Regions from separate parts of the Homo sapiens genome. Here all the other regions are linked to region 4. Evidence: promoter capture Hi-C in 16 types of primary human blood cells and fetal thymus (Javierre and others, 2016). All regions are on one chromosome and are shown on one strand. Each heading gives the region's core, a stretch centred on a gene start or on the middle of the fragment in contact. The rest is flanking DNA. Distances are from core to core; before and after follow the strand shown. Region 1 overlaps IBTK (inhibitor of Bruton tyrosine kinase). Region 2 holds the start of PNRC1-DT (PNRC1 divergent transcript). Region 3 holds the start of IBTK (inhibitor of Bruton tyrosine kinase). Region 4 holds the start of SNHG5 (small nucleolar RNA host gene 5). Region 5 overlaps UBE2J1 (ubiquitin conjugating enzyme E2 J1). Region 6 overlaps MAP3K7 (mitogen-activated protein kinase kinase kinase 7). Region 7 overlaps LOC101929004 (a long non-coding RNA gene).

What was found. Contacts are between HindIII fragments. The CHiCAGO score rates a contact against its expected background, and 5 or more counts as called.
Region 1: a fragment that was not itself captured here is called in contact with the fragment with the promoter of SNHG5 in region 4 in 1 of 17 cell types (activated CD4 T cells); the score reaches 7.5 in activated CD4 T cells.
Region 2: a contact is called between a fragment that was not itself captured here and the fragment with the promoter of SNHG5 in region 4, in 2 of 17 cell types (activated CD4 T cells and non-activated CD4 T cells). The highest score is 5.1, in activated CD4 T cells.
Region 3: a contact is called between the fragment with the promoter of IBTK here and the fragment with the promoter of SNHG5 in region 4, in 8 of 17 cell types (naive CD8 T cells, activated CD4 T cells, total CD4 T cells and 5 more). The highest score is 13.8, in naive CD8 T cells.
Region 5: a contact is called between a fragment that was not itself captured here and the fragment with the promoter of SNHG5 in region 4, in 2 of 17 cell types (total B cells and activated CD4 T cells). The highest score is 6.3, in total B cells.
Region 6: a contact is called between a fragment that was not itself captured here and the fragment with the promoter of SNHG5 in region 4, in 1 of 17 cell types (neutrophils). The highest score is 5.6, in neutrophils.
Region 7: a fragment that was not itself captured here is called in contact with the fragment with the promoter of SNHG5 in region 4 in 1 of 17 cell types (neutrophils); the score reaches 9.9 in neutrophils.

What each region holds. Positions count from the first base shown.
Region 1 is chr6:82,228,838-82,233,175 of GRCh38, reverse strand. IBTK (inhibitor of Bruton tyrosine kinase) reads left to right here. Exons shown (of 29, transcript NM_015525.4): 4 at 1,334-1,458. Among named protein-coding and RNA genes, the nearest start is that of IBTK, 17 kb to the left of the region's middle. The HindIII fragment of the contact is 1,716 bases long and covers 1,740-3,455 here.
Region 2 is chr6:89,076,850-89,080,621 of GRCh38, reverse strand. PNRC1-DT (PNRC1 divergent transcript) reads left to right here and starts at 42. Exons shown (of 1, transcript NR_187250.1): 1 at 42-460. RefSeq lists a silencer at 37-246 and an enhancer at 677-766. The HindIII fragment of the contact is 971 bases long and covers 1,219-2,189 here.
Region 3 is chr6:82,244,664-82,248,993 of GRCh38, reverse strand. It overlaps IBTK (inhibitor of Bruton tyrosine kinase), which reads left to right and starts at 1,250. Exons shown (of 29, transcript NM_015525.4): 1 at 1,250-1,432. RefSeq lists a silencer at 1,448-1,617. The HindIII fragment of the contact is 2,262 bases long and covers 94-2,355 here.
Region 4 is chr6:85,676,669-85,680,611 of GRCh38, reverse strand. It overlaps SNHG5 (small nucleolar RNA host gene 5), which reads left to right and starts at 1,879. Exons shown (of 6, transcript NR_003038.2): 1 at 1,879-1,918; 2 at 2,424-2,476; 3 at 2,580-2,658; 4 at 2,737-2,817; 5 at 3,120-3,188; 6 at 3,421-3,605. It overlaps SNORD50B (small nucleolar RNA, C/D box 50B), which reads left to right and starts at 2,953; the gene lies at 2,953-3,023. SNORD50A (small nucleolar RNA, C/D box 50A) reads left to right here and starts at 3,244; the gene lies at 3,244-3,318. RefSeq lists enhancers at 1,909-2,068, 2,239-2,298. The HindIII fragment of the contact is 13,479 bases long and covers 1-2,036 here.
Region 5 is chr6:89,343,252-89,347,327 of GRCh38, reverse strand. UBE2J1 (ubiquitin conjugating enzyme E2 J1) reads left to right here. Exons shown (of 8, transcript NM_016021.3): 2 at 3,572-3,645. Among named protein-coding and RNA genes, the nearest start is that of UBE2J1, 7.4 kb to the left of the region's middle. The HindIII fragment of the contact is 2,139 bases long and covers 244-2,382 here.
Region 6 is chr6:90,576,515-90,580,708 of GRCh38, reverse strand. All of the region lies in intron 1 of MAP3K7 (mitogen-activated protein kinase kinase kinase 7), which reads left to right. Among named protein-coding and RNA genes, the nearest start is that of MAP3K7, 8.5 kb to the left of the region's middle. The HindIII fragment of the contact is 817 bases long and covers 1,926-2,742 here.
Region 7 is chr6:89,141,797-89,145,641 of GRCh38, reverse strand. LOC101929004 (a long non-coding RNA gene) reads left to right here. Exons shown (of 4, transcript XR_942766.4): 2 at 1,809-1,895. It also overlaps a transcript of PM20D2 not described here. Among named protein-coding and RNA genes, the nearest start is that of PM20D2, 2.3 kb to the left of the region's middle. The HindIII fragment of the contact is 3,442 bases long and covers 529-3,845 here.

The DNA of each region.
Region 1 (4,338 bases), core at 1,348-3,847, 3.4 Mb after region 4:
TTTTTTTTTTTTTTTTTTTTGAGACAGTTTCGCTCTTGTTGCCCAGGCTGGCGTGCAATGGCGCGATCTTGGCTCACCGCAACCTCCGCCTCCCGGGTTCAAGCTGAGAGGCTCTCTTCTCTCAGCCTCCTGAGTAGCTGGGATTACAGGCATGAGCCACCATGACCAGCTAATTTTGTATTTTTAGTAGAGATGCAGTTTCTTCATGTTGGTCAGGTTGGTCTCGAACTCCTGACCTCAGGTGATCCGTCTGCCTCGGTCTCCCAAAGTGCTGGGATTACAGGCATGAACCACTGCGTGCGGCCAATTTTTATACTTTTTTTATAGAGGTGAGGTTTTGCCACGTTGACCAGGGTAATCTGGAACTCCTGAACTCCAGTGATCCTCCCTCCTCGGCCTCTCAAAGTGCTGGGATTACAGGCGTGAGCCACTGTGCCCGGCTCCAATTATTTTTTTATTCACACATTCTCAGTTTCACTTATCCCTCCAGTTTGTTTGCTCTTTGAGATTTGGAAGTGGGAATTGGCAGAAAAGAAAAGATTTAATTGGGGCACTGTATAGTTTGCATTTAACTAGTAAGCAAGCTGAGTAAGGACACATTCTGTATTTCTATTTCTACCCTGGATACTGCATTGCAGGTTAACAGTGATAATTCCATTCTAAGACTTTATTCATCTTCTAAAATAAAAATGAAGATTTATATCATGAACTTAGCTGTGATTTGTATTCCAGTTTAATGGGCTTTACCCTAATCACTAGTGTGATTTTGTGTCTATGAAAAACAAAGTATTGAAAGTTAGTGTTCCTGTACAAAGAGTAATATCACATTTGCAACATTTAGAACCTTTGTATGTGTGGATTAATAATATCTTACATTTGATACAGTTCTATATATTATTTTCATGGAAACTAAGTAGATATGGCCGGTGGTGTTTTACTCATTTGGCAGTTAAACTTTAGCTGCTAAAGAAACAAGAAACAGCCTGGGCAGAGTGGCTTATGCCTGTAATCCTAGCACTTTGGGGGGCCGAGGTGGGAGGATCACTTGAGCCCGTGAGGTGAAGACCAGTCTGGGCAACATAATGAGACCTTGTCTCAATTATTAAAAAAAAACAACAACAAAAAAAAAAGAAGCAAGGAACAAATGTTTGATTGCTTGCATTGAGACAGGCCTGTACTATGATTTGGATTTTCTATTTCTAGAATTACCTAATATCATATTAATATATTCATTCAGAGAAGAGCGTTGGCATCTTTCTAAATATTGTAGTTAAATTAGTTCTTATATGTGTTTTAAAATATAAAAAAGTATAAAAACTAATTTTTATTTTAGATCCTACAGATGTTTATACTTGGGGCGATAATACAAATTTTACCCTGGGTCATGGAAGCCAGAATAGCAAACATCATCCAGAGTTGGTGGATCTGTTCTCCAGGAGTGGGATTTATATCAAGCAGGTATTTTTGAAGTACAATCTATATACTTTTAGAGATGAGAAAGAACTTTTGTATTTGATTGTTCAGCTTTTCATGTGGATTACATAACTTTGTTTCAGGTACAGTAACATTTTAATGAGGAAATCAATCAATAGAACTTTGCTAATTTTATTTTAGATATTGTTAGCCTTAATTATATTTAGACTTTGTAAAATACCCTAAAATATAAGATATTTGTGCAATTAGTGTTAGAAATTAGAAAATGTTATACAGATAGTAGTTTAATTTAAGAGGGTAAAGCTTCTCTTGATTTTCTAGCTTTTCTATTTAACAAACATTACAATTCTGTAAGCTGTTTCTCAAGTGAATTTGTTGTTGAAGCTCAGTGTTATTTTTGATAAGTGAACAACAGTTCTTTTTTTTTTGGTGGCATTAAAAAATAAAATAATTTCAATTTAGAAAACAACACACTTCTTGCAATTTTTTGTAACAAAATAATGTTTTTAGGTTCCAAGCTATTTATCATGAAGAGAATATGTTTAATCTTATGTGAAGTTGGATGACAGCAGTCTGGAAAGGCTATAGAGTTTTTTAACTGAGGGTCTGGTAAACTGCCAGTCATTCTATTTAATTATTTGTATTCACACTGACAAGCAATAAATAATTAAATGTCTAAGTCTCAGTTCTCAGTTTGGATAGTAGATAGAACTAAAATTTCATCACTTATGGAGACAGATAAGCAATGTTTTGGAAGTGTGGGGTTCAAAAATTTGCCCTTAGATGCTTAGGCACGAGTGATGCTTTTTGTGAACCTGAGTTCTTAAATGTAAGTAATTGTAAAATTTTAATAGATACAATTGTAAAGATTTGGTCTGTGGTCTTATATCCTTACAATGCATGATATCTTCTACTTCCCCAGATACAGCTACTGTTGACAAATCTTTCTGTATTACATTGTGTATATGTGTGTATGTATGTGTATCTCTAGCCCCAGTCTTTCTCTTGAACTTTATTTCAGTTGTACTGTGGGTATTCTTTCAAGATATTTAAATTTAGAATGTCTGAAGTGTTATTTTTGCCACTCCTAAACTACCCTATTCAATTTTTAATGTTATAAATCTCAAATTCTAAATCCTGAAGATGATACCTCAGAGCATGTCTATTTAGTTCTTTTCTGTCTCATGAACCTAGGTGCCATGTCCTTTTCAAGCTCTTTTTTTGGACAGTGACAACAGTGTCCTAATTTGACTTTTTGGCTCCATTCATTTCAACCCCAATAATATTCTTCTCCAGAATTATTTGTCTTAAAAAAGAGCTAATTATGTGTTTATCTACTAAGTCACCTTTGGATAAAGTCCAAACTCTGTGGCTTGGAATGTAAGAACTTTTTCAGTCTTCCTAAATTACCATTTCAACTTACATTTCCTACAACTTCCTAGTTATATTCTTTCTGCATTTTGAAGTTCATAAAACTTCTTTGATCCAGAATATGAGCTTGGAGTGTTTTTATCACTATAGTACTGGCTCTTTCCAACTTTCACCTATTATTTATATATGACATACATAACAACACTTAGTTTATATCCTGAGATTGAATTCTTAGACAGTTTTTAGAGCTACTTTGACAACATATCCCTAGTTTGCCCAGGACAGTTCTGGTTTATGATTATTTTCCTAGTGTAATTGTTAGTATCCCCTTTCATTCTCAAAAATGTTTGCATGATAAATAATATGACCACTATATTTAGGGCTCCATAGAACACTATTTTTTAAACTAAAAGTCACAACCTAATGCATCACAACCAGCAATTGAACAAAAAAAGCAATAGAATCCTTAAACTCTAGAGAATATTAAATTTTGAGAGAACAGGAATAAAAACCCATATAGGAATGAAAAGTGGCTAGAGAAGTAGGGAGTAGAATGGTGTCATGAAAGCTAATATTCTTGTGGGTCTTCTCTGTAGATGTGGAGGGAACTTAGGATAATGAAAGGACTTGTGATGGGCGAGAATCAAGCTTGGTGTCCAAGTCTTTAGTGAATGTGAGAGGGGTGAGCAAGATGGTGAGAAATCAGAGCAGGGGCAGCAAGTGTACAAGCTGCTCACCTAGTCTAGAGCTTTTTGCAGACATGCTAGTCAGTTTTTTTTTTCTCATGCTGAGCTTGAGTGGGTCCTCAGACTCCTCCTTAAAATGATAATCCAACCATTAGCAGCCACTAATGATTGATTGGAATTGTGGCACAAGAAAGACACCTGTTTTTCCTTTTTTGAGGTAGTACATGATATACCTTTATTTCATGAGCTGTTACGGAGCAGGGATTTTAAAGACAAGAGTGAGGGAATCATGATGGCATTAGGAAATCAGAGGGTGATTGAAATGTCTGATCCAAAGAAATATATAGTTTGGAATATTTGAGCATATTCCATTTGCCAGGGTTGTGAGTGAACTAGTGTACTCAAAGAGAAAGCCACATTTCAGGTAAGGCAAGGCAGTGGGCGTGTTTTGTGAAGGTATTAAGGATCTAAGGGATTTTATTTACCACAGAATGAGGGTGAAGCAAGCACAGTGGGTAGGTTTGAAGGAAAGAAATCAGTATAAATTTCAGTCAGGGAAGAGAAAGCAAGTATGGGAATATTAATTGAGTACCAGTTATATAGAGAGCCCCATTTGTTATTGAAAAGGGGCTGATTCTATATTATACAGTACCAAATTAATTAACTACCATGAGACAGAGATTATTAATGTTAGTATTATATATTCCAGATAATTAAAAGCGAAAATCCATGCTCAGTTCTTATTTAAAAATTCAGGGGTTTTAGGCTGGGCGCAGTGGCTCATACCTGTAATCCCAGCACTTTGGGAGGCTGAGGCGGGCAGATCACGAGGTCAGGAGATCGAGAC
Region 2 (3,772 bases), core at 455-2,954, 3.4 Mb before region 4:
CGGGTAGACACACACAAACAACCAGCTTGCTGCAGCCTGGCACAAAGAGGGCGCACTGCGCAGGCGCTGCCAGCGAGCTCTTTTGGGAAGAATCGGTCCCGCGAACAATGAAATTGGGTTTCCGCCCCACCCTCTTTACTCCTCCCCAGCACGCCCCTGCGCTTCGCCGGGCTAGGGAGTGGTGGTACTGAAATGTCCCGGCGGAGTTTGTTGATGGGGGTGGGGAAGGGAGGGGGCAGGGGGAGGGCGGCAGGAAGAACGGGGGCTGGGAAGAGGGGATGACTTTGGCAAGGCCACGGTTGCCTCCTCCGCTGCTGACCTTGGGGAAGTATCCGTTTTATTTTCAGCCCAACATAACAGCGTTATCATTTTAAAACAAAGATTTCTAAGTACGCTGTAAGGATTTCTTCCCTAGCAATCGTGAAGAAAATCAGTCTACATTTAAATTTTATCTACTGAAGTATGGCTCACGATTCTTTCATTTACTTGGTTCGGCATCGCTGCTTATTAGTCTCGGTGATCAGAGTAAAAATCAAAGTGACTTACTGATTGAATTAGCCCCTCGATGTATAAAAAGTTCTCCGTAAATCCATAAATGGAAGTTGGAGTTTTTACTGATTTCATACTTGAAGGATTGTGAGACTTTGGGATCAGAACATTGTGCCTGGTTACTTGAGGAGGCGGCAAGCCGGCTTGCGTCTCAAAGGGAGAAAGTGAAACAGCTCTGCAACATAGAGTATTTTGTTAGCTGCGCGTAAATAGAAATTTTTCGCGATCTCCCCGCACTGCTCAACCACAAAAAAGAATTGTGGCCATAATTTATCAAGCATTTATGTTCCAGGAACTGTTCTTTACATAGATTGTCTCACTTTAACCTCACAACAACCCTTACGAATAGGTACTAAGAAAAATAGATCAGACCTCAGCTCTGCGAAGTAGGCAGGCTGTCATTCTCTTCCTTTCACTACTAATGCCTGGGGCAATTGTTTAAAGGCATTTTGTTCCTGATTAGCTGCCTACGCATTATCTTTAAGTTTCTGAAATTTAAGATACAAAGAACAATGTATAGCTAGTCAAGAGCCCACGATATTTTAATGTAAATTGGTAAACAATTTAGGAGCTGCCTCTTTTCCTTTAAAAACCTACTTGTAACTTGCTAATCCGAGTGTATATTCAGGGCAGCTTGAATCTATGGTCCTGGGTTGCAGTCCTCAAGCTTGGCCTGATTTTGCCTCAGCTTCTTTTTGGAGGGACAGTACTGTATTTTATTCCCATTTTACAGCTGGGGAAACAGGCTTAGAAAGGCTAAAGGACTTGTCAAAGATCAAACGGTAAGTTAACATCAGAATTTGATCTCCAGTCCAGGTACTGCAAGACAAAAGTTTTAATTTTTTTTTTTTTTTTTTTGAGACGGCGTGTCACTCTGTGGCCAGGCTGCAGTGCAGTGGCGCCATCTCGGCTTACTGCAACCTCCGTCTCCCTGGTTCAAGAGATTCTCCTGCCTCAGCCTCCCTAGTAGCTGGGATTACAGGCACCCGCCACGCCCAGCTAATTTCTGTATTTTTTAGTAGAGACGGGGTTTCACCTTGTTGGCCAGGATGGTCTTGATCTCCTGACCTCGTGATCCGCCTGCCTCGGCCTTCCAAAGTGCTGGGATTACAGGCGTGAGCCACCGCGTCCAGCCCTGCCACACTAGATTCTACATTATTAGAAGACCACAGTAATCTTACACTTCTGTATCCTCACCGCCTCTACAATAGTTTTCAGCTTTGGAGTAGTAAGCAATTAGTAAGCAATGAAACGTTTTATGATTGATGGCAAAGTTGGACAGATTGCATATCCAGAAAAATGCTTCCCAATCACTTTATAAACTTTTTTTTTTTTTTAGACGGGGTTTCTTTCTGACACTCAGATTGGAGTGCAATGGCATGATCTCGGATTACAGCAACAGCCGCCTCCCAGGCTCAAGAGATCCTCCAACCCCAGCCCCCCACGCCCCTGAGTAGCTGGGACCACAGGCACACACCACCACTCCTGGCTAATTTTTTGTGTTTTTAGTGGAGACAGGGTTTCACCATGTTGCCCAGGCCGGTCTCAAACTCCTGAGCTCAAGCCATCTGCCTGTCTCAGCCTCCCAAAGTGATGGGATTACAGGAGTGAGCCACCAAACCCAGTCAACCTTATAAGCTTTTAAAACTACATTTCAGGCCAGGCGTGGTGGCTCACACCTGTAATCCTAGCACTTTGGGAGGCCGAGGCGGCTGGATTACCTAAGGTCAGGAGTTTGAGACCAGCCTGGCCAACATGGCGAAACCCTGTCTCTACTAAAAATATAAAAATTAGCTGGGCATACAGGCTAATGTGCCTGTAATCCCAGCTACTAGGGGGGCTGAGGCAGGAGGATCGTTTAAACCTGGGAGGTAGAGGTTGCAGTGAGCCGAGATCATGCCACTGCACTCCAGCCTGGGCAACAGAGCAATACTCCATCTCAAAAAACAAAAAAGAAACCAAAAAAACTCCATTTCATTCCAATTGCTGAATTTTACTCATTTTTGTTTCTGCAACATGTAATGCATAGTAAGTGCTCATGTTCATTGGATGGATGGGAATCATGGACATCCAGAGCTGTAAAAGAATCTACTTTTTCAAAGCACTTTCCATCTGTCATCTCATTTTATTCTTACTCTAGCACTTTAAGGTTGATATAGAGAGGTCCTATTTAACGTATGGTGTAAATAAATTTAAATATATAGTAACTTGCTTGGGGGGGGGGGTTCACAAAATGAGGTAGGAATAACTCGAACTCCTGATGCCTAGTCCAGTGTTCTTTTCACTATATCCCATGATTTTAGGCTTGACTTTATCTGGGGATAATATCATACTGTCCTAGAGAATAATTTACCCTTCAGGGAGCTGGTCATTGGTAGCCAGCTCTGTGGGGCCCTTGGTCAAAGATACCTATTATTGTCTATGTGTATTTCTTGGGTGATTGTTGGAGTAATTATGTGTATAACTTATCATTTTGAGGCCTTAAGTGTAGGCTTCATGTTTGCCCTGGGTTCTGTACTGTAAGAAAAGTAACCTTGCAGCTGTGACCACCTGGGTGATGGGTGCTGAGATTGCTAAAATGGTGCCCACCACTAAGAAACAGAATGGGAGCTGAAATGGGGCACTTAGAAGAGAGAGGTCGAGGTTTTATAAGCCAGATGATTGGATTTAATGTTACTCTGTGTGGGTAGTCTTTGTAAACCCTTAGTCTTTAGTAAAGTCTAATTTTAATGTTTAAACCTAAGCGTTACAGGTTTAAACATATAGTGTTAGCTGTGCTATATGATATAAAGGAAAAAGATCAGGCTGGGTGCAGTGGCTCACGGATGGCAAGGTGGATGGATCACTTGAGGTCAGGAGTTGGAGACCAGCCTGGCCAACATGATGAAACCCTGTCTCTACTAAAAATACAAAAATTAGCCAGTTGTGGTGGTGCATGCCTGTAGTCCCAGCTACTTGGGAGGCTGAGGCAGAAGAATCACTTGAACCTGGGAGGTAGAGGTTGCAGTGAGCCGAGATCACGCCACTGCACTCTAGCCTGGGCGACAGAGCAAGACTTCATCTCAGGGAAAAAAAAAAAAAAAAAAAAAATCAGATCCTTTTGCTTGGGCCCAAAAGGCCAAACTTGGAGGTAACAAGATATTCCAAGGGTAAAGGAAATTTTAGGAGAATTCTCAGAGTTCTTGAAGCTTTTTGCTCCAGTGTACATCTTGATTTTATTTTT
Region 3 (4,330 bases), core at 1-2,500, 3.4 Mb after region 4:
GTCTCGATCTCCTGACCTCGTGATCCGCCCGCCTCGGCCTCCCACATTGCTGGGATTACAGGCGTGAGCCACCGCGCCCGGCCAACTTAAGCTTATTTTCAAAACCACTCAATTTTGACATTACAAACTGGTTTTTGTTTTGTAGAAGGACATTAAGAATAAAGAGCAAAGAAACAATTATGTGCTGGGAAGGGCAGTAGGAGGGCTGGGTCCTAGTCTCCCTTTCTCTTTCGCTAAGCAGCTGTGTGGCTTTGGGCTAGTAACCTACCCTCCCACAAAAAAGGCTTCAAAAGAGAGCAAGCAGAGCTCAGTGGGCATTAAGACATGCGCAACTCCTTTCTTTTAGAGATTAGATGAGGTCGACTCAGTGGCTTGTAAAACTCAACGTGGCAGAGCTGTACAGCCAACTCATGATTCTTAGTGTCGTTTGTTTTGAGTCACACTACACCTCCTTGAACAATCATTTACTGAGTGCTTACCGTATTAGGCATTCAGCAGCAGTGTGTTTCCCATTCAGTAACCTAGTATTGATTATTGGCTACTGTCCCTCCTAGCATTTTTCACTTGACCACTTTCTAAATGGCCTTTAGATTCAGAGTTCAAGTGGAAAAAGCCTAGTGTAAGCCTGGTGTCAGGCAGTGAGTGGCGTGACCCGGGTCGGCAGCTAGTCCTACGGTGGTGATCTAAGAGGGCAGTGACGCCTTCTGACCAAGGGAGTGACTGCCAGATAATCCGGGTGTATGGAGATCCAGAGAGGGGTGAGGCTGGGTTTACGGAGACTACACCTTTGGCTTTGCAGTAACCCCACTGCTAAGGCCATGGGAGGAAACTCTTCTGTGCAGGACGCCTATGCACTTGGCTTCTGCTGCGTAGCGACCGGGTGTCCAAGGCATCCTGCCAGGTCTCCTTCTCCACTCGGGTTTAGCCTCCCCCGCGAGTCTCCAGCTACCTAGAGAGACGTTTCTAACTACGAGATGGCTGGCCTGAAAGGGACACTCCCATCACCGTTGTTGGCCTAGAGTTCCCCGCTGCGGCCTTTTTCTTTTCCCCGCCCCTGGCCTGAGTCAGCGGCCCCAAGGCCGGCGAGGTCAAGTTCCTTTGGGGCGCCAGGGAAAAGGCCATGGCAGAGGTGCTGCCACGCGAAACCTTCTGGGCAGGCACCAGCCAATCATCAAGAGACATACAGGAGCCCCAGCCAACCAGCGCCCGCCTTATTACTGGGAACCGCCCGCTCGGGCCCTTCCTCTACATCCCCGTTCCCGATTCCTGTAGTAGCGGCTGTATTGCAGCCGCCTGCCGAACTGACCCGGGTCTGGGGACTGGCCCCTCTGGCGCCGTTCGGTTTCTCTTATTGCCTTCACTGAGGATGAGTCCCTTTGTGGCTCTATGTGGACCCTGCGGAATCCACCGGCGCAGTTTCATCTAGCGACTGGTGAGGGAGGGCTTGGCGCTGCCCGACCGTGCGGTGCGGCTTCCCTTCAGCCCGGGGGCAGGGGGAGAGTATTCGCCTTCTGGAGGGTGCGGGTGGCTGCGGACGGCGGCGCGGGGGGACCGTGGGGAGGGGACTCTGTGGCCCCGAGGCTGCCGGGCTTCGCGCGAGGCGGCGCGGAGAGGGCCGAGTGGCCAGGGTCCCTACCGCCCCCCTCAGCTAATGAATGGCCTGTCCCGGCGATGCGCTACGCTCCCGTCCTGCTGGACACGCCCTCCAGCGACATTGCATTCCTAGTTGTGATAGTTATGTAGTGTCACTTTCCTTCGAGTCTTGGATTTGAAGCCATTCCTGTGGGCGCTCATGTTCCTTATCCCCTTCCTGGAGTCACAAGTTTGAGTCCACCCTGGGGATACTGACTCTGGGGAAGCAGGTCGTGAAATCTGATAAGTGGACATTGATTGCTATGTAAAAAGGAACTGATTCTTTTTGGAGGGTGGAGGGTTGAGAGAGACAGAGAAGACAGGCCCTTTGTTTTTGTAACAGGCAGAGCTGTCTGGCTCAAAGAGTTTTAGTTCAGCTGCGAATTAGGTAACATAGGCCGTCCTTGACTCCTGTTTTCCAACGTAGTTCATAAAACTTGACTGTGTTAGCCAGAGATTCATGTAGCACCTTTTAACTTATGCCTCGAAGTAGGCCATTTGAAATTTATCAGAAATACTGAAAGGATATGACTTTTATGAGTAGTAGTGTTTCAGTGCCCATAAAGTGGTGTAAATTCACAGGCTTGCCAGCCCCCTCTTGATCATTTCTCTTTTTGTATTTTGAATTCCTTAACTTTTATTTGTTTTAGAAATTGAGGCAAGGTAGATGAGGACAAAACTGGTTTCTAAAAATAATTACATTTGCAAATATTTGCAGAAGCTTTAGTCAAACCAGAGTTTACTTCAAGAAATTTTTTAGGCCGGGCGCGGTGGCTCACGCCTGTAATCCCAGCTACTGGGGAGGCTGAGAATTGCTTGAACCCGGGAGGTGGAGGTTGCAGTGAGCCGAGATCGCGCCGCTGCACTCCATCCTGGGCGACTGAGTGTGGCACCATCTCAAAAAAAAAAAAAAAAAAAAAGATGCCTGTAATCCCAGCAGTCTGGGAGGCCAAGGTGGGCGGATCACTTGAGGTCAGGAGTTCGAGGCCAACTTGGTGAAACCCCGTCTCTACCAAAAATACAAAAAAATCAGCCAGGCATGGTGATGTGTGCCTGTAATCCCAGCTACTCGGGAGGCTGAGGCAGAATCGCTTGAGTCTCCAGCTGCCCTACCAAACTGCTTTTGAATTCAATTATTTTGAATTGAATTCCATGGTACTTTTTTCTACTACACTATACTACTTGCATTGAAATTTTTCTAACTGCCTTTTGGGAGAGCAGTTTGGTAGCATAGAATAGGTGGGATCAAGAGCACTTTTCTGTCGGTATTATTTTAGGTAGGCTTTTTAAACTTTCACATGAATCTCCTCATCAGAAAATGAAAGTGATCATATTTACAGGGGCAATAATAAGGATTATATTTATGTAGAGCACTGTGTATAATGTATAAAACAAAATTTCACCTATAATTTTTGTGTGTTTTTTCCGTTGTTTAATTTTGTTTTGCTTTACTCACTTCCAAAGTATTGACCCCTTACTCTTCTTTCTAGTTTCCCTATCTGTTCTCCAAGCCAGAAACCTGGGAATTACCACCACATCTTGTCAATTCAAGATCCTAAGTATGTCTTTGGATTGCCTGCCCTTTTTTTTTTAAATCTCTAAGAAAAGGCACATAAGGCTGTTCAAAATCCTGTCTATCCTTGTGTGTATGTTAGGCCTCACTTCTTTCTGTCTTCTGAATTATTTAGAAATTTTGGAATGGACCAAGATGATTCTAGTTCTTTTATATTTACTATCCCTTCTGCTTCAAATGTGCTCTCACCCAGAATTTATCAGGCCAACACATATGGTACTCTTTTTTTTTTTAGAAGGAGTCTCGCTCAGTCGCTCAGGCTGGAGTGCAGTTGCATGATCTTGGCTCTCTGCAGCCTTGACTGACCAGTTTTAAGTGATCCTCCCACCTCAGCCTCCAGAGTAGTTGGGACTACAGGGATGTGCCACTACGCCTAATTTTTGTATTTTTTTTTGTAGCGATGGCTTTCACCATGTTGCCCAGGCTGATTTCAAAGTCCTGGGCTCAAGTGATTTGCCTGCCTCAGCCTAACAAAGTGTTGGGACTACAGGCATGAGCCACTGTGCCTGGCCAGTACTCATCTTTTAAGTCTTAGTTTATACATAGTTTATCTCCTGTAGAAAGTCTTACCTGGACCCCTCTTCTGCACTCCCCGTTCCTATGTGTCACTTGTTTTATCTTGACCATAGGTTTATAATTATGATATGTTTTAGTTACTTGCCTAAATAAAATTACTCTCTTCTACCAAACTGTGACCCTTTGATAATAGGAACTGTGTAATAGATCATAAGTTTTGTTCAGTTAGTACATATGTTAAACTAGCTATGCATCCACCTGAGTATTATCCATGAACCTGTATTTTATTTTATCTAAAATATTTAGGTCCTAATTATTTTTGTATTCCCAATGCCTTGTGACCTACTATGGATGCGCTGAAGAAGACAGTGTAACGTAGCAGAAATAGCACGGACCTCATCATTAAACAGATCTGTATTTGAAGTCTGACTCCCTCTTTTCTTGGTGGTATGATTTAGGTGGTTTACTTGACTGGTCTGATGTAAAGCATTCCGTATGTATTAGGTCTTTAAATGCTTATTTCCTTTGCTTTCTTCCCCTTCTTTAAGCAGTTTTTGAATGCATAGATAAGAAGTACAATAGGCATTGGAAATATGGGCCTGGAGTTTA
Region 4 (3,943 bases), core at 630-3,129:
ACATGGTTGGTGGGCTGAGGCAGAAGGATCACTTGATCCCGAGATTGCAGTGAACAGAGATAGAGCCACTGCACTCCAGCCTGGGTCACAAAGTGAGACCTTGTCTGGAAAAAAAAAGTCATCTATATGTACTGATATGGAAAGATGTTTATGATATTTACAAGACGGACAAACAAGTTGCAGAACATATAGATCCCATTTGTATGTGAAAAACGAAGTACATATATTTGCATTTGCATAGGAAGTCTCAAAAACTGTTAACAGTGGTATTGCTGAAGAGTACAACTAGGGAGAAGATTCCCAGGCATGTGGAAAGATACTTTCACTTTGCTTTTTTTGTTAACTCTTTTTAAAAATTTTTTTAATACAATAGAGACAGGGTCTTGGGCTCAATCCTCCCACCTCAGCCTCCAAAAGTGCTCTAATTACAGACATAAGCCACCACACCCGGCCTACTTTGCTTCTTATATCCTTTTGTACTGTATTGTTTGTTTTACTATTTACTATGAGCAATATGCAAATTTATGTAAGACATTACAAAGTAATACAAAAACCGACAAAATGCCCGGCCCAGTCAATACTTCATCATATAGGTTCCTGTTAGAGAAAAGTGCTTTTCACTACTATCTTTGAATGTGAAGTTTGATCTTCATTCTAATTTTCTAAAAAGCCACCGAATGTATTTGTTCATTCATTCATTCATTTAACCATTACCGACAACCTACTTAATGCTAGGCACTGTTCTAAGAAAAAATAAACAGCAGAGCACGAAATCAGATGTGTTGCTCCCACACTCTAGCAGAATCGGACCGTAATCAAATGCACACATAAACAACTTTAATAAGTAGTGCTTTGAAATATAGAAGTGAAGAACGACCTGAATTTTCAAATACTGAAATGTTCAAATGTCGTGTGCACACACACACACGCAGACATATTCACTCGAACATGCTAATTAATCAAAGCACTGCTTTTGAATTTTGTGTTTGTCGTCTGGATAAAGTATTCAGGGATACTTCTCAAATTAATCTTTCTCTCGTTTTCAATATAACTAATTGAGTACAAAGAAGTTAAAAATTAGCAAAGCATTTCAGCTGTGTGACCTTAGGCAAATTACCTGGCTGTTTTAAGCCTCAGTTTTCTCCTCTGCGAAATGGAGTATTGAACCTCACGTTCGCTGTTTGAGGGAGACTTGTATGGTCACGTTTAGTGTAACCGGATGCCTGGCACGAGGAAGCGTGAGGAGGAATGGATCCCCATGGGGCCTTGATGCCCGCCCTGAGGCCCTGCAGGGCCGCACGCCGGGGCTGTTCTCACGTGGCGCTTTCCGCTTTTTCACCCAAGCGTTTCTGCCAGCCAACTGCCCTTTCCCGGAGTGCTGCGGCCAGGGCTCGCCCGCTCCTCCGGCGGCCTCCGCTGGGGGCCCACTACAGCCCAGCGCCAGCCAGCCAGCCAGCCCAGCTTCTCGAATCGGTCCTAAGCTGAGGCCGCCCTGCGCTGCAAAACTTGTGTCCACTCTCGGACCCAATCTGTCCTGGACGGACTTGGCTCGTGGCAGGCGAAAGCGTCGTTTCCAACTGCAGCTGTTTGAATTCTGGCGCCACACCCGCGCCACGTAGGGCCAAGTCGGCCGCCAGACTCGTAAGAGACGCTTCGCAGTGCGCCTGCGGGCGCGCGCCGGGAAATGGCCGGGCGCGCGGCCGGCCTGCGGCGCGCTCCACAACGCGGAACGGGCCTCAGAAGAGCCACCGCGCGCGCTCCCGCTAATTCGCGACCACACCCCTGTCTACTTCCATGTCCAATAGGTGCGAGAGGGCGGGACGGCCTCGTTCTGACTCCGGGAGGCTATATAAGGAGCTACTGGCTGCGCACTTCGGTCTTTTACGTCGGCCTTCGCGAGCGTCTGGGCGGGTGGTAGGTGAGTGGGTATTGCGGGCTAGTATCCGAGCAAAAGATGGTGGCGCAGGCCGAGTTAAGAGCTTTAATCCTGTGAAGACATCTTAGTGAAGAGTTTAGAGTGCTGAGAGTTGAAAGCTTGCACGTGGGAAACGTGCGGCCGGACTGCCACATGTACTGAGGTTGAGTCGTGACGGCCACAGGCTCCGAGTTTTGGCGTGAGGAACCGCTGATCGGCCACGGGCGCCGAACTTGCTGGCCTCCGGCATGTGCCTGAGCGGCGGCGGAAAAACCACCTTAATTGGGGCGGAGGGTTAGTTTTAACAGCAAAGGGCCTTTACTAAAATGGCGAAGGCCTTCCGTCGGCGTTGTTTTAAAATGGGAAGCCTCGACCCTGTATTGAAACTGAGCTGTTCGAAGGCGGCGTTGTGTGCAATTCGGATTAATGAAGGGGAAGGGTTTTGTGTGGAAAAACGCCTTGGAGTGTGACATTTCTGCGAGAATGCTTAAATACCGATTTCCCGCAGGAACAATGGCGCTGTCTTCAGTGGCACAGTGGAGCAGCTCTGAAGATGCAAAGGTAAGAGCTTAGTTAAGCTTAGTTTCCAAACTAAAGGAGTAAACCTGTTGATTTACAGGAATAGGAACTGTTGCATCGTTTGAAATTTACTTTTTTTTGTTAGATACACGAAAAAACTTCCAGAACATCTGGGAGAATATTTAATGGAAAATCGCTTGGTTAAAACCTGACACTTTTAACAGGTATGTGTTGTTTTAGTACTTTATGATTGAGCATAGCATTTAATCCACACCTAGACTAAATCAAATTTTTTTTGTCAGTGAACAGCGTTCTGAGTGTGGACGAGTAGCCAGTGAAGATAATGAATGTCGAATGTGACTGACTAGCAGCTTCATTTTGAAGTAGGTTGTATGGCTTAAAAGTTCTGTAGTATTTGTACTATAATACTTGCCTTTTAGCATTACCTTGGTTTGTAGTCAGTGTCACAGAAGTGCAGTTTAATGTATTATGTGTACATATACAAGGTCTGATTGGTCTAATCAATGATGAAACCTATCCCGAAGCTGATAACCTGAAGAAAAATAAGTACGGATTCGGCTTCTGAGATTAAGACCAGTAATTCAGAGGTGGAGTAAATTTTGTTGCCGTGATTTTATAACAGTTGTGTTATAAAATCCTGGGTTTTTTTTTTTTCTGCCAACAGTGAGGGTCGCTGTCTGCCCATTGATAGAGGCCAGATTGTCTTGGAAGTTCCAAAGTTGCAACGATTTCTGTAAGTGGAGTTTTTCTGTTTGCTTAGAGATCAGTGAATATTGTGTCCTTGGTCTTATCTGTGATGATCTTATCCCGAACCTGAACTTCTGTTGAAAAAAAAAAACTTTTACGGATCTGGCTTCTGAGATGGACCGTTATAAGGACAATATTTTTTTTTAATACTTTTAATGCTTTTACATATGTTGTAATGTTTGTAGTCTTGTAAGAATCTCGTGTTTTTCCTTTTCTAGGGCTAGTGCCACGAGGTTTACTTGACTGTTGTGTGAAAAGCTGATAAGAAAACCATCCAGAAAAAAGCTCTTCGTTTTACAAACATGAAAATAAAACATGTAATTTTGGATTATGTTCCTTTTTGTTATTACTTTTAAATAGGTCCTGAAATAACATGGGGAGCATTAAATGGAAAATCCACTAACCAGCCTTGTAATCAAATTACTGTGAGTGAATGTTTCGGGTTTGTGCAGGGTACAATGTAAGGGTTTTTGGATCAGTGTAAGAGTGGAGAGACAGGAATTAGAAGTAATTGTTACTAAGCAAATCATGGAATATTTAGTTTTGATGTAACTATAATTTTGAAAGCCTGGATGCTTAAGTTGAGAAATGGGGGAATGAGATACAGAAAATAAGGAGCACAATAGAATAATAATAGCAGTTTATTAAGTATGGTCATGAGGGAAGGTTACTGATAAAACAATCTGGTAAAGACATTCAGGCTTGCTAAAATCTAGGAAGAGGTCATTTGGCAGGATGGGT
Region 5 (4,076 bases), core at 64-2,563, 3.7 Mb before region 4:
CATCTCCAAACTAATTAACTTCATAACAGCTTCCATAATTGCATTTCTATCTAATAATATTAACTTAAAGGAATGATATGTTTATGTGGCTTTAAAGCAGGGTTTTCCATCTTTGTTCTATGGGTCCCTTCAGGAGTGAAATGGAAGGACAGGGAGTAGATAGTCCGCAGGCCCTTCCACTGGCCTCTGCAACCAAAGCGGCTCTGTGGTTTTTGTTTCACCTGTTGGGGTTCTCATTAAGCTTTCTTTGAATGAAGGATTTTGTTTTATTAAATAAGTTTAATTGTTTTATTAAGTAAGTTTAAAAACCATTGCCTTTAATCGGATTCTGAGAGCTATGTTGAGAGAAGATAGTAAAATTTAATTCAACTAATATTTGAGTACTTACCATGTGCTAAGCCCTGAGGAGACTGTACTGCTACAGCTACACTGTCATTACTATTGCTTAGCAGGAAAAACAGATATTAAACAAGTAATTACAAGTGAGATGAACTTCATAAGAGGAAAAATACAGTGTTATGATGGCATAGAGCAAGGAGACTCAACCTGGTCTCTAGGGCAGTGGTTTCTAAACCTAACCAGAGTAATTCAGAGAGCATTCCTAGTCTCTACCCCTCCCTAGGACGCCTCAGAGATTTTGATCTGCCCAGATTGAAATCTCCAAGCACTGTAGGGGGTGGGGGGCAGGGGGCAACCAGGGAAGGTGTCATAGAGACATTCCTGAGAAGTTACTTAAAGGTCTAGGGTAGCCAGACTAGACGGTGAGGCGGAGGATGGGGCCGGAGCAGCCTGGGCCCTGAGGAAAGCTGTATAGAAAGGCTGAGAGTGGAGGGGAGGTAAAGTGTGTTCAGGGAATTGACCAAAGCCCAGTCTCTAGACTTGGAGGGAGAGGGTGTCTCAGTATGTACATATTTCTAATATAGCATTTATCATTCTGTTTTGTATTGACTGCACCTCCCAGCCGTCAGTCTTTAGTGACCAAAGCCATATTTTGTTTACGCATGAAGCTGTAGCATCTAGTACCTAGTAGGAACTCAAGAAATAGTTGATGATCCAGTGAACAAAGTCTCTGCATATAGGGGCTTAGTTCAGAGTAAGAAATGGAAAAGAATATTAATAATTGTGAAGTAGGATAGTAACAACTTTTTTTTGGCCAGGCATGCTGATTCCCGCCTGTAATCTCAGCACTTTGGAAGGCTGAGGTAGGAGGATTGCCCGAGACCAGCCTGGGCAAGACAGGGGGACCCCAGCTCTACAAAAAATTTAAAAATTAGCCAGGCATGGTGGTGCATGCCTGTGGTCTCAGCTATTGGGGAGGCCAAGGTGGGAGGACTGCATGAGCTTGGGAGGTTGAGGCTTCAGTGAGTGAGCTGTGTTCGTACCACTGCCCTCCGGCCTGGAGGGCTTTTTTTTTTTTTTTTAGACGTAGTTTCGCTCTTGTTGCCCAGGCTGGAGTGCAACAGCACGATCTCAGCTCACTGCAGCCTCCACTTCCTGGGTTTAAGCGATTCTCCTGCCTCAGCCTCCCTAGTAGCTGGGATTATAGGCATGTGCCATCACACCAGGCTAATTTTGTATTTTTAGTAGAGATGGGGTTTCACTATGCTGGTCAGGCTGGTTTCAAACTCCTGACCTCAGGTGATCCACCTGCCTCGGCCTCCCAAAGTGCTGGGATTACAGGCCTAAGCCACCGTGCCTGGTTTTGTTTGTTTGTTTGTTTGTTTTATTGAGATAGTCTCTCTCTGAAGCCCAGGCTGGAGTGCAATGGCACGACCTCAGCTCACTGCAACCTCCACCTCCTGGGTGCAAGCGATTCTCCTGCCTCAGCCTCCCGAGTAGCTGGGATTACAGGCGTCCGCCACCATGCCTGGCTAATTTTTGTATTTTTAGTAGAGACAGGGTTTCACCATGTTGGCCAGGCTAGTCTCGAACTCTTGACCTCAGGTGATCCACTCGCCTCGGTCTCCCAAAGTGCTAGGATTACAGGCATGAGCCACCACGCCTGGCCTCAAATGCAATTTTATGCAAAAGTCTTGATACATACCAAACCATTGTGGTTATATACATGTAGGGGTTCCTTCTCAGTTAATCTCTCTCCCCATAACATTCCAACCTGTGCCTCTACACATTTTACTTTTATTATTACCTCTTCCTATTCATATCTACCTGGGGAGTTTCTACTGTTATTTCTTTCACATTCAGTACCTGACTCCTTTTCTCTTCCATTTGCTCTAAAGTTAGATGCCCAGCCTGTCCTCCCAGCATCTGGTGCATACCTCTCTTTTGAGCTACATCAGTGGTTGCAAACCCAGTTTTGAGAAGCCTTTTCCCTAACTCAGCCATCCCACTGCAGTATCCTGACATGTTTTAGCACCAAAAGCTTGAAATGAGAGGGGTTGGGATCCAGAGTGCATATCAAAGGATTGAATTTTGAGAGCCAATAGAAGACAGAGGGTGCAGATACAGATAGGATTGTAGATTGTGATAGGCATCTGAGCAGCTCCTGCTAGCAGTCATTCATCAGGGAGATAAAAAGCTGGGTGCCATTAACTGAAAGAGAGGAGAAATTAGACTAGGTGGGAAATAATCTTGGAGTGCTAGGTGGAAAGAGTAGGCTGGAAGGCCTACTAGAGAAATGTGGGGACATTAGGTGGCATTGTATCCCAGTAGAGGTTGTTGGTAATGACTTGTAATGGCATTACTGCACCATCCTCTCTGACTTTTTTTCCTCCTTTCAGTGATGCTCAGCTGTTTGGGTATAGACAGCAAATAAGATGGTTGGGTTGGGTCAGGCACAGTTGGATTTTATTAAGGGAGTGTACAAGAGGGACTCCTAAGAGCCAAGGGTGTGGATAAAGAGGAAAATGAATATAAGTATAGGAGGGGTGAAGAAAGTTGTGGGGTCAGTGGACTGGAGGTTTTAGTGAAGCTGAAGGATCATTTCAAGAAGGAATTTCATCGGGGCTTTGGAGAGTCAGTGAATTCAGGGGACAGTCCATTCATTTAATGCAAGATAGTGGATGGAAAGTCCCAAGAGTTGGAGGATATAGAGGTGTTTCCTGTTCACCGAGCATGAGATCCAGAGAATACATTTTTTGTTAATAAAGACATTTTAACAGGTAGAGCCAAATTGCCTGTGTTGGAATCCCATCTCTGTCATTTACTAGCTGTGTGACTATATAATCTCTCCGTGTCTCGGCTTCTTCATCTGGAAAATGGGGATAAAAATAATACCTATCTAGTAATGTTGTATTAAGGGTTAAATGAGTTATTAATGTCTGTAAAAGCACTTCAATAAATACCACCATATAGGAAGTATATATAAGTACTTATTAAATAAAAATAGTGTCTTCACTATATATTTAATATATAACTCTTTTAAAGTGTTAATGCCTAGCAACTGTTTCCTTCCTCTCCCCCTCTATTTATTCCCATAATCTTATAATTAAACCTTTGCCATATGCTCATTTGCACTAGTTCTCTACACATTTTTTCATTAGGCTCGTAAGACTGTGCTAATCATTCAGAAAAGTATATTTTAAATATCTCTATTTTATGAATTTTATTTTAGCTGTTAAACGTTTAATGAAAGAAGCGGCAGAATTGAAAGATCCAACAGATCATTACCATGCGCAGCCTTTAGAGGTTAGTTTCTATCTCCATGTTCTTCATATGGATTTTAATATTTAAAACAAATTTTTTAAAATTGCTTTTCATTGCTTTGAGTCATTACAGATGTGTGTGATGTAGTTTGACGTTTTATTCACCATATTTCATGAATATTTCATTAGCCATTCCAAATCACTTTAGAAGAAACGGATTTTGTGGTCTTTATAAAATGGGTCTCAGATGCTAAGTTGAGGTTAGATCTTTTTTTTTTTTTTTTTTTTTTTGAGGCGGAGTCTCACTGTGTTGCCCAGGCTGGAGTGCAGTGATGTGATCTCGGCTCACTGCAACCTCTACCTCCCAGGTTCAAGCAATTCTCCTGCCTCAGCCTCCTGAATAGCTGGGATTACAGGCCCCCACCACCACGCCCGGCTAATTTTTGTATTTTTAGTAGAGACAGGGTTTCACCA
Region 6 (4,194 bases), core at 1,085-3,584, 4.9 Mb before region 4:
GGGAAATACTTGTAACTTGATATGTTCTCTTTTTTACTCTTGATGAAAATTCATCTTTGGGGAAAAAACAGTCATTTAAAATAATGTTGGGCTAGGTACGGTGGCTCACACCTGTAATCCCAACACTTTGGGAGGCCAAGGTGGGAGATTGTATGAGGCCAGGAGTTTGAGACGAGTCTGGGCAACATAGTGAGACCCTGTCTCTATAAAAAATTTTAAAAAACAAAAAACCTAATTGTTAATTACAGTGTGTCAAATAAACTGTATTATTCAGAAAAGAATACGGTTCAGAAAGCACGTTTGATTTGTGAACTTGGACTAGAAATTTGGTAGTAAATAAAAAGTGGCCTTCTTTCAGTGGTTTACAACTTGAATATTAAGTTTTTTCATTGTTTACCTCAGTTGCCAGTATGTCTCAAGAGTGGCCATCTATGCCACTTTTTTTCTGTTGATCTACCATATGTCAAGAAAAATATCAAATTTGCTTTCTGTAGTTTGTAACATTGGCTCATTCCTTATCTAATAATGTACATAATCTCCTTATGTGTTTTTAGGCTTGGCCTTTGCAGTCCAGACATACTATTATTCTACATCTGATCTTCTCCACGATTTTATGTTCTTGATTAATACAATAAGGAAATTTGTTACCAAGATATTTGCATTTGAAACATTTTCTTAGAAATATGTGATATATTTTTTAAAAATCTATACACATGTAAGATTTTCCCCAGTCAGTGGAGTGCTGTTTTACATAGCCTGAGAGGTGGAGTGCAGACAGTAATGAACTTTCTTAACCAGCGTTTCCTGTTGGAGCGGTGGTGTCCACAATTTTTTGTTTGTCTGTCTCCCACTGGTAAAACAAAACACTTTCTATTTTGTATACTCAGTTTTCAGTGTGTATGTATGAAGTCGGTATTTTTAAACAATGGGAGATGAAAGGTTTCATACTATCATTTGATCATGGCTCAAGTTGCAATAAGTACTTTCTAAATAAAACCTTTCTAAAATGTGAGAATTGACTTAATTAAAATGAGATAATATCTGTAAATCTACTTAACTAAGGTCAAGTAAACTACAATATACACAAGTGAGGGACTGATAATGGAGTCAGTATTTGACATATTGAACTTAATAAGCCTGTAGGACCCCTTAGTCTCAAAGGCAGTTTTAAATATATCTTGAGCTTGGGCAAAAAACCTGGATGGGAGAGATTTGAGAGTATGAATCCATGAGATTAGAGAACAGATTCAGAAACAAAAGGGCCAAGGACAGAACCCTGGAAAGTAGCAACATCTAAGGTTTGGACAGAGGAAGGAAGAATCAGTGAAGGAGGCTAAAATAGAACTCTTAAGCAGAGACAGGCAGAGAAGGGATTGTTGACAGCCATCTTTGGAGACTGCCATAAGCCCTTTATACACAAGCCTTCTATTAACCCAACTTCACTCTTTTCTTAAAGGAGATTAGGGCTTTTTAAAACCCCCTTCTAAACAGCTAAAATCTGATTCGAATATAATCTTTTGAAAAGTTAATTGTTGTTAGTTATCATACTTGCTGCCTTTGAGTAGCATTTTTCTCTGTACCAGGCACTGGACCAAATCCTGGCAGGCCTCTGTTTTGTTGGCACCATGAAACATACCTGAAAGCTGACTCTGATTTACTAATTACATGATCCTTGAATAGGTAACTTCAGTTCTTGGAGCCTTGGTTTTCTTCTCTCTAAGGTAGGAATAAAAAATCCTATATATTCATGGGTTTATGGTGACACTCAAACTCCATCATATTTGTAAGAAAGAGCTTTACAAGTTGTAATATATTGTTAAATATAAGGTTGCATTATCGTTATACAGATAATAAAATTGCATTTCTTTAAAATGTTATTTCTTGAAGAAAGGAATGAGAAGTATATTGGAATGCCCTGGGAAGCTTTTTTTATGCTACGTAGCACCTTCTGCCACCTCTAATTCCCATTCAGACTTCTCCCTTAGAGAGCTAATATCAGAATGGGGGGAAGGAGAGCAAAATATACCAGGAAACAACTTTATCCATTGTATATATCATCTGATTATTCTATCTTCTACTCTTATGGATATATGCTTATACTCTTTTTTGTTTAAAGCACAAAACTCCTGTCTCTGGCCAGGTGCAGTGGTTCACGCCTGTAATCCCAGCACTTTGGAAGGCCAACCCAGGCAGATCGCCTGAGCTCAGGAGTTCAAGACCAGCCTGGACAAGATGGCAAAACCCCGACTCTACTAAAAATACAAAAATTAGCTGGGTGTGGTGGCACAAGCCTGTAATCCCAGCTACTTTGGGGTGGCTGAGGCAGGAGAATCACTTCAGCCAGAGAGGCAGAGGCTGCAGTGAGCTGAGATCGCGCCACTGCACTCCAGCATGGGCAACAGAGTGAGACCCTGTCTCAAAAAAACAAACAAAACAAAACAAAACAAACTCCTGTCCTCCTGCCGGTATTTCTTACTTGTTTTTAAAAGTTAAGAAATGTAACTATTTTTCTATAAACTACTGTTTAATTATGAGTCATTCCTCTTTTCAACTCAGTAGAGAAAAGCATTTAATCTTGCCACAACAAGGATAATTTCCATGTAATACTTACCTCTTTTATGTATCTTTGTACTCAGAAATTTCAAGATTAATTCGGTTATTTCAAAATTCAGTCTTCCCCCATAAGGATTTTCCTTTTCCCTTTCTCCTGCCCAAGATGACATATGGGTGCTGTGGAAAGCTTCCACAAATAATATAAACAGCAAGGGAGAGCTCTCTGGTCTGTGTGATGGCTTCCACTGAAATATCTTGCCTTATTATCTGTTGTTAATGGATTAGCCTTGAATGCAGTGATTTTCAAACATTGAAACTACCTGGAGGGCTTGGTAAAACATGGATTGCTTGGCCTTACCGTCAGACTCTATAATTCTGGGTTGCACCCTGAGAATTTATATTTCTAATAAATATCCAGGTGATGTTGATACTGCTGAACCGGAGACCACACTTTTAGAGCCACTGGCATATGCTTTCACTGTCCTTATATCTGCTTTCCTTCTGGAACGTCTTTTTCTTTTGGCTTCTCTGACTCTCTCCTAGTTTGCCTGCTACCATATTGACTGTTCCTTCCTGTTCCTTGCCCATTCCTTCTCCTCTCTTGTGATCTAAATGTTGAACTGCTTCAAAGCTCAGTTCCTCTACTCCACTATCTCCATATTATTTTTGGTTACCTCTTCCAACTGATTGACTAGAAAAACTGACTACATGCTAATGACTCCCAAGTTTGTATCTCTTTGTCTGACTTCTCCATAGATCCTCTCACTCACGTTTCTACCTTCTTACTTGATATCTCCTCTTGGATATCCAGTAGGCATCTTAAACTTCATATGACTAAAACCAAACTCTGAGTTATTAAAAAAAAATCTGCATCATTCTTATCCCTCAGTAAACTGTTGTCCAGTCTAGGTGTTTTCCTTGATTCAGCTCTTTTCCTCTACACCTGTCCTGCCTGGATGCAGAGCATCAGCAAACCCTATTGACTCTACTTCTAAAACATTTCCCAGATCTGCCCAGTTTCTGCACTACCATTGACCTTGCCCTCGTAGCTATTGTTGCTTGTTTGGACTGCTGTAATGGCTTCCTAATGGGTCTCTATTTACATATCCTAGCTTCCCTACAATCCTTTCTTTAAGAGCTATAATGATTTTGTTTAATGTCACATACCATCCTTACTTCCTTGAATTTTTTCAGTTCCTTCACATTGCACTTAGACTGAAATTCAAACTCCTTTTTATGGTAGGTAGAGCCGTTCAGGATCCAACCTCTGCCTGTCCCTCCAGCCTTACCTTACAATCACTCTTCCCTTCCTCCACTATACACCAGCCACACCAAACACTCCCAAGTATTTCTCTAAATCATCACTAAAATGTCACCTTTCTCAGTGAGGCCTTGAGTGATTACCTTGTCTAAAATTGGAGTGAGGCAGAGTGCATACATGTGTGTATACACACACAATTATACTCCTTTTCTTCTTAGCACACAACTCCCTTCCTTTTTATTTGTCTTTTTCCACAAGAATATAAACAATGAGAACAAGGATTTTGATTTGGTTTGTTCACTCTTGTATCATCAGTGCCTAAAATAGCGCATAGCCCTTAGATTGGGCTCACATATTGGAGTAAATAAGGTAGTGAGGTT
Region 7 (3,845 bases), core at 1,000-3,499, 3.5 Mb before region 4:
TACTGTACGTAAGTTTCGGTACTGCCCCCACTTTCTTCTCCTTGACATTGTATTACTAAAAGCTGCAGCTACTCTCTACAGTTTTCTCATTGGTTACTAATGTCTGGAACAGCAGCTAGATTATGCAGTAAGCTCTTGGTATGTATTAGCTATTATATAATAATTTATTTGAATAGAGTAGAACTAAAAATTTGAAATGAGTTAAAACCAAAGAGTTAAAAGATTTATGGTAGTAAATATTCATACTGTTTTGTTGATTTGGACAGTTGTCTTGAACAGCTTTGAAAGGGAACATATGACAGGTTTCGTTTATAATTTTAATTGATGCTGAACTCCACTAACATGATATGTGCAGCTGGTGTTACATTATAACTGAGTTTTTTAATTACCCAGTGAAGAAATTCAAGATGTCATGCTCTTGTTTTTCTCCAGAGTGAACCACAAAGTCTGAAAAACTGTTGTTGACGGTATGCCTATTAATAACACTGTAGATGTTTATATTCTGAGGTTTTCCACATATTAAAAGCTTCTATCAGCTCTTCATACCCTATCATCTTTCCTTAATTTGTCTCAACTATGTTAAATGGGACACAATATATTAATGTGATAAACCAAATGAATATTTTGAAAATAAGTCTAAGGGAAGCTAACATGCACGAAGACTATCAACTACTGTTTTTACTACTCTATATGCTAATAATACCAGAGTAAATGTCACATTCCATTCACGTCTGAAAACTTTCTTTCTCAGTTAACACTCCAACAAAAACTCAGCTCTAAAAACAACAAATGTGTTATTAAATTCCTGGGCCCCCTTGGCGATAATAAATCTTTCTCTGGTATTCTGCTGAAGAAAATTACCCTGTATCCACGAGATCCAATATTATCCTGCTCAGTTAGTTGGCTAAAAAAAGGGGAGAAGGGGGGATTGGAGAGCAAAAGCAATAGGTGACATTTGTAGAGCAATTACTCTGTGCTAGGCACTGTTCCAAGGGCTTAGCATTTGTTAACTCATTTAATCCTCACAGCAAACTATGAGGTGGTTAATGTGGTTATTTATCTTCATTTTACAGATGTATGTCCAAGATTATAGAGCTAGTAAGTAGTGGACCCACTGTAGAACAGAAGCCAGAGTCAGCCTCCAGTGGCTGACTTTCAGCCACCATGGTCTATTGCTTGTGTAAACAGACATGCAAATTCATAAATGCATCTCCAGTTTATCTATTCAAATCAGAACCCACAACACTCATTTTGAATAAATTTTACTGCAGCAACTCTGCCTGCTGACATCAGTAGAACCCATGTTTGCCCTCCTCAGGCATCAATAAACAGCAACAGAAAAGGGATGCATATAATTTCATATAGAAGCTGCTATTTATATTGCTTTGCAGGAATTAACAAAGCTGCCACTTGAGGTAGAGGAAAGACAGATTCATTTCAAGCTCTGTTCCTTGTGTATATATGTGGGTGGGTGGGTGGGTATACATGCCCACAGGCACGTATGTATTCAGTTTCTACTGTTGACACCTTGTATTTCTTGCTCATGGTATTTTGCACCCTTGAATTCATTTATTTGATAAACTGTGATAACTTGCTGACCGTTTATCTTCCCCTCCAGGCTTTAAACTCTTTTGTTTTCCCACTGCATTCCCCAGCACCTAACATCTTATGGTCAGCATTTCCTCTGTGTTAATAAATATTTGTTGGCTGATTATTCTTCTTGAATCTAATAAACTAACTGAATAATGGCAGCAATTAACCATTAAACGACACTGACTACCAATAGACATTGTTATGCTTCTTCCTAGACTTCTCAGTCCTTTATGTGGAGCTGGGGGCAGGAAGAATTGCTTCTGGAAGCTGATGGAGTTGGACATGTGGCTTTCTAGAATCTGGTCAGCTCATAAATTCTTACTATTACTTTCATTTGTACCCATAATATTCATACAACTGTCTACCCTATCTATGTGCTACTGGTAAGGAACCTGTATGTTTTTATTAGAAACAAAAAAAAATGTATACAAGCTCCCTTCCTTTAGCTGGTGCTGGATCTGAGGAAACAATACAATATCCAGAATTTAGTATTAAGATGTATAACCTTTTTGGGGGGGTGAGAGGAGTGCAGATAGTTCTCTCTTGAGGACTGGTTTTAAAGTATATAAATGTTCTTTCTTGGCTCCTGATGAGAAAAAAGGGGAAAAAATATATAAAGATTCCTCTTCTTTCCTGGCTGCTTAGAAAACCAGCTGTCATCACAACTGACTCAATAACTTTGAGAACAGGACATTCATGACAAATGAGTGCTGTGGTGGAAAGAGTAGATCAAAAATTTCCTTTACCCTGGAAAAGCAACTAAAATACAGCCAAATTGTACAACTATACTGGGTATTATTTTGGGCTTCAGATTCAGAACTCCTTTTGAAAAGGCAGCAGGCTTTTGTATGGTTTATATTCTTTGAATTAAGATAGAAATAATAAAATAAAATCCCCAACATGGCAAAGCATGAGCTCATGGCAAAGCATGAGCTAAATGAGAAAAAAAAGTTTTTGAAAACAGAAAAAGGAATGGAATGAAAAATAAAATGAAGAAAATTAAAGGTAGAGAAAAAGTAAATAGAAGTACCAGAGAGCTTCAGTGCAGGATTTCAGGAATGAAAAGCAAACAAACAAAAATAATTGTGGGGGGCCGGGCGCGGTGGCGCACACCTGTAATCCCAGCACTCTGGGAGGCCGAGGTGGGTGGTTCACGAGGTCAGGAGATGGAGACCATCCTGGCTAACATGGTGAAACCCCGTCTCTACTAAAAAATACAAAAAATTAGCCGGGCGTGGTGGCACGCACCTGTAGTCCCAGCTATTCGGGAGGCTGAGGCAGGAGAATGGCGTGAACCCGGGAGGTGGAGCTTGCAGTGAGCCGAGATCGCGTCACTGCACTCCAGCCTGGGTGACAGAGCGAGACTCCGTCTCAAAAAATAATAATAATAATAATAATTGTGGGGGAAAGGAATAAAAAGTGCAAAAATGATTTAATCCAAGGAGAGAGTGCAGATATTTCACCAAAAAAATCAAACTTATAATACCTTCAAAATATATGATATTTCCAAAAGTGCATGTGAATCCAGCCTACATCGTTTCAGTTTAACAATACTTGGAACTACAGCAATTTTCTCCTGAACAAAATGCTGGCCACTGCACGATTTGAGGACTGCTGCTGCCAGCATGGAGAAGAAGCAAATCACAGTGTCACTTTGGTATACTGGTCATTTACAACATTCTCCTAAGCATCCCCAGACACACATGCAAACTTGGTTAACTCCAGAAACTTCTCTAGCTGAAACAAACACGTAACACGCACTAGATAGCACATGTAAAATCAATCTGGGCTAAGGTGTTGGAAGAGCTGGTTGTCATATGGCAGAAAGCAGACAACTAAGAGAGTAGGTGAGCAGAAAGGTGAATTTGATTGGGGATGAAGGGACATAGAGGAAGTGTACAACACATTGCTAAGGAATTACAACTTTAGCTGGTTTTGGTGGCTCATGCCTGTAATCCCAGCACTTTAAGAGGCTGAGGTGGGAGGATAGCTTGAGCCCAGGGGTTCAAAACCAGCCAGGACAATATAGGGAGACCCTGACTCTACAAAAAATAAAATAAAATAAAATAAATAGTAAATAAGCCAAGCATGGTGGCACACATTTGTGGTCCCAGCTCCTCTGGAGGCTGAGGTTTGAGGATCGCTTGAGCCCGGGAGGTCAAAGCTACAGTAAGCATGATTGCACCACTGCACTCCAGTCTGGGCAACAGAGTGAGACTTTTGTCTCAAAGTAAAATAAAACTTGGACAATG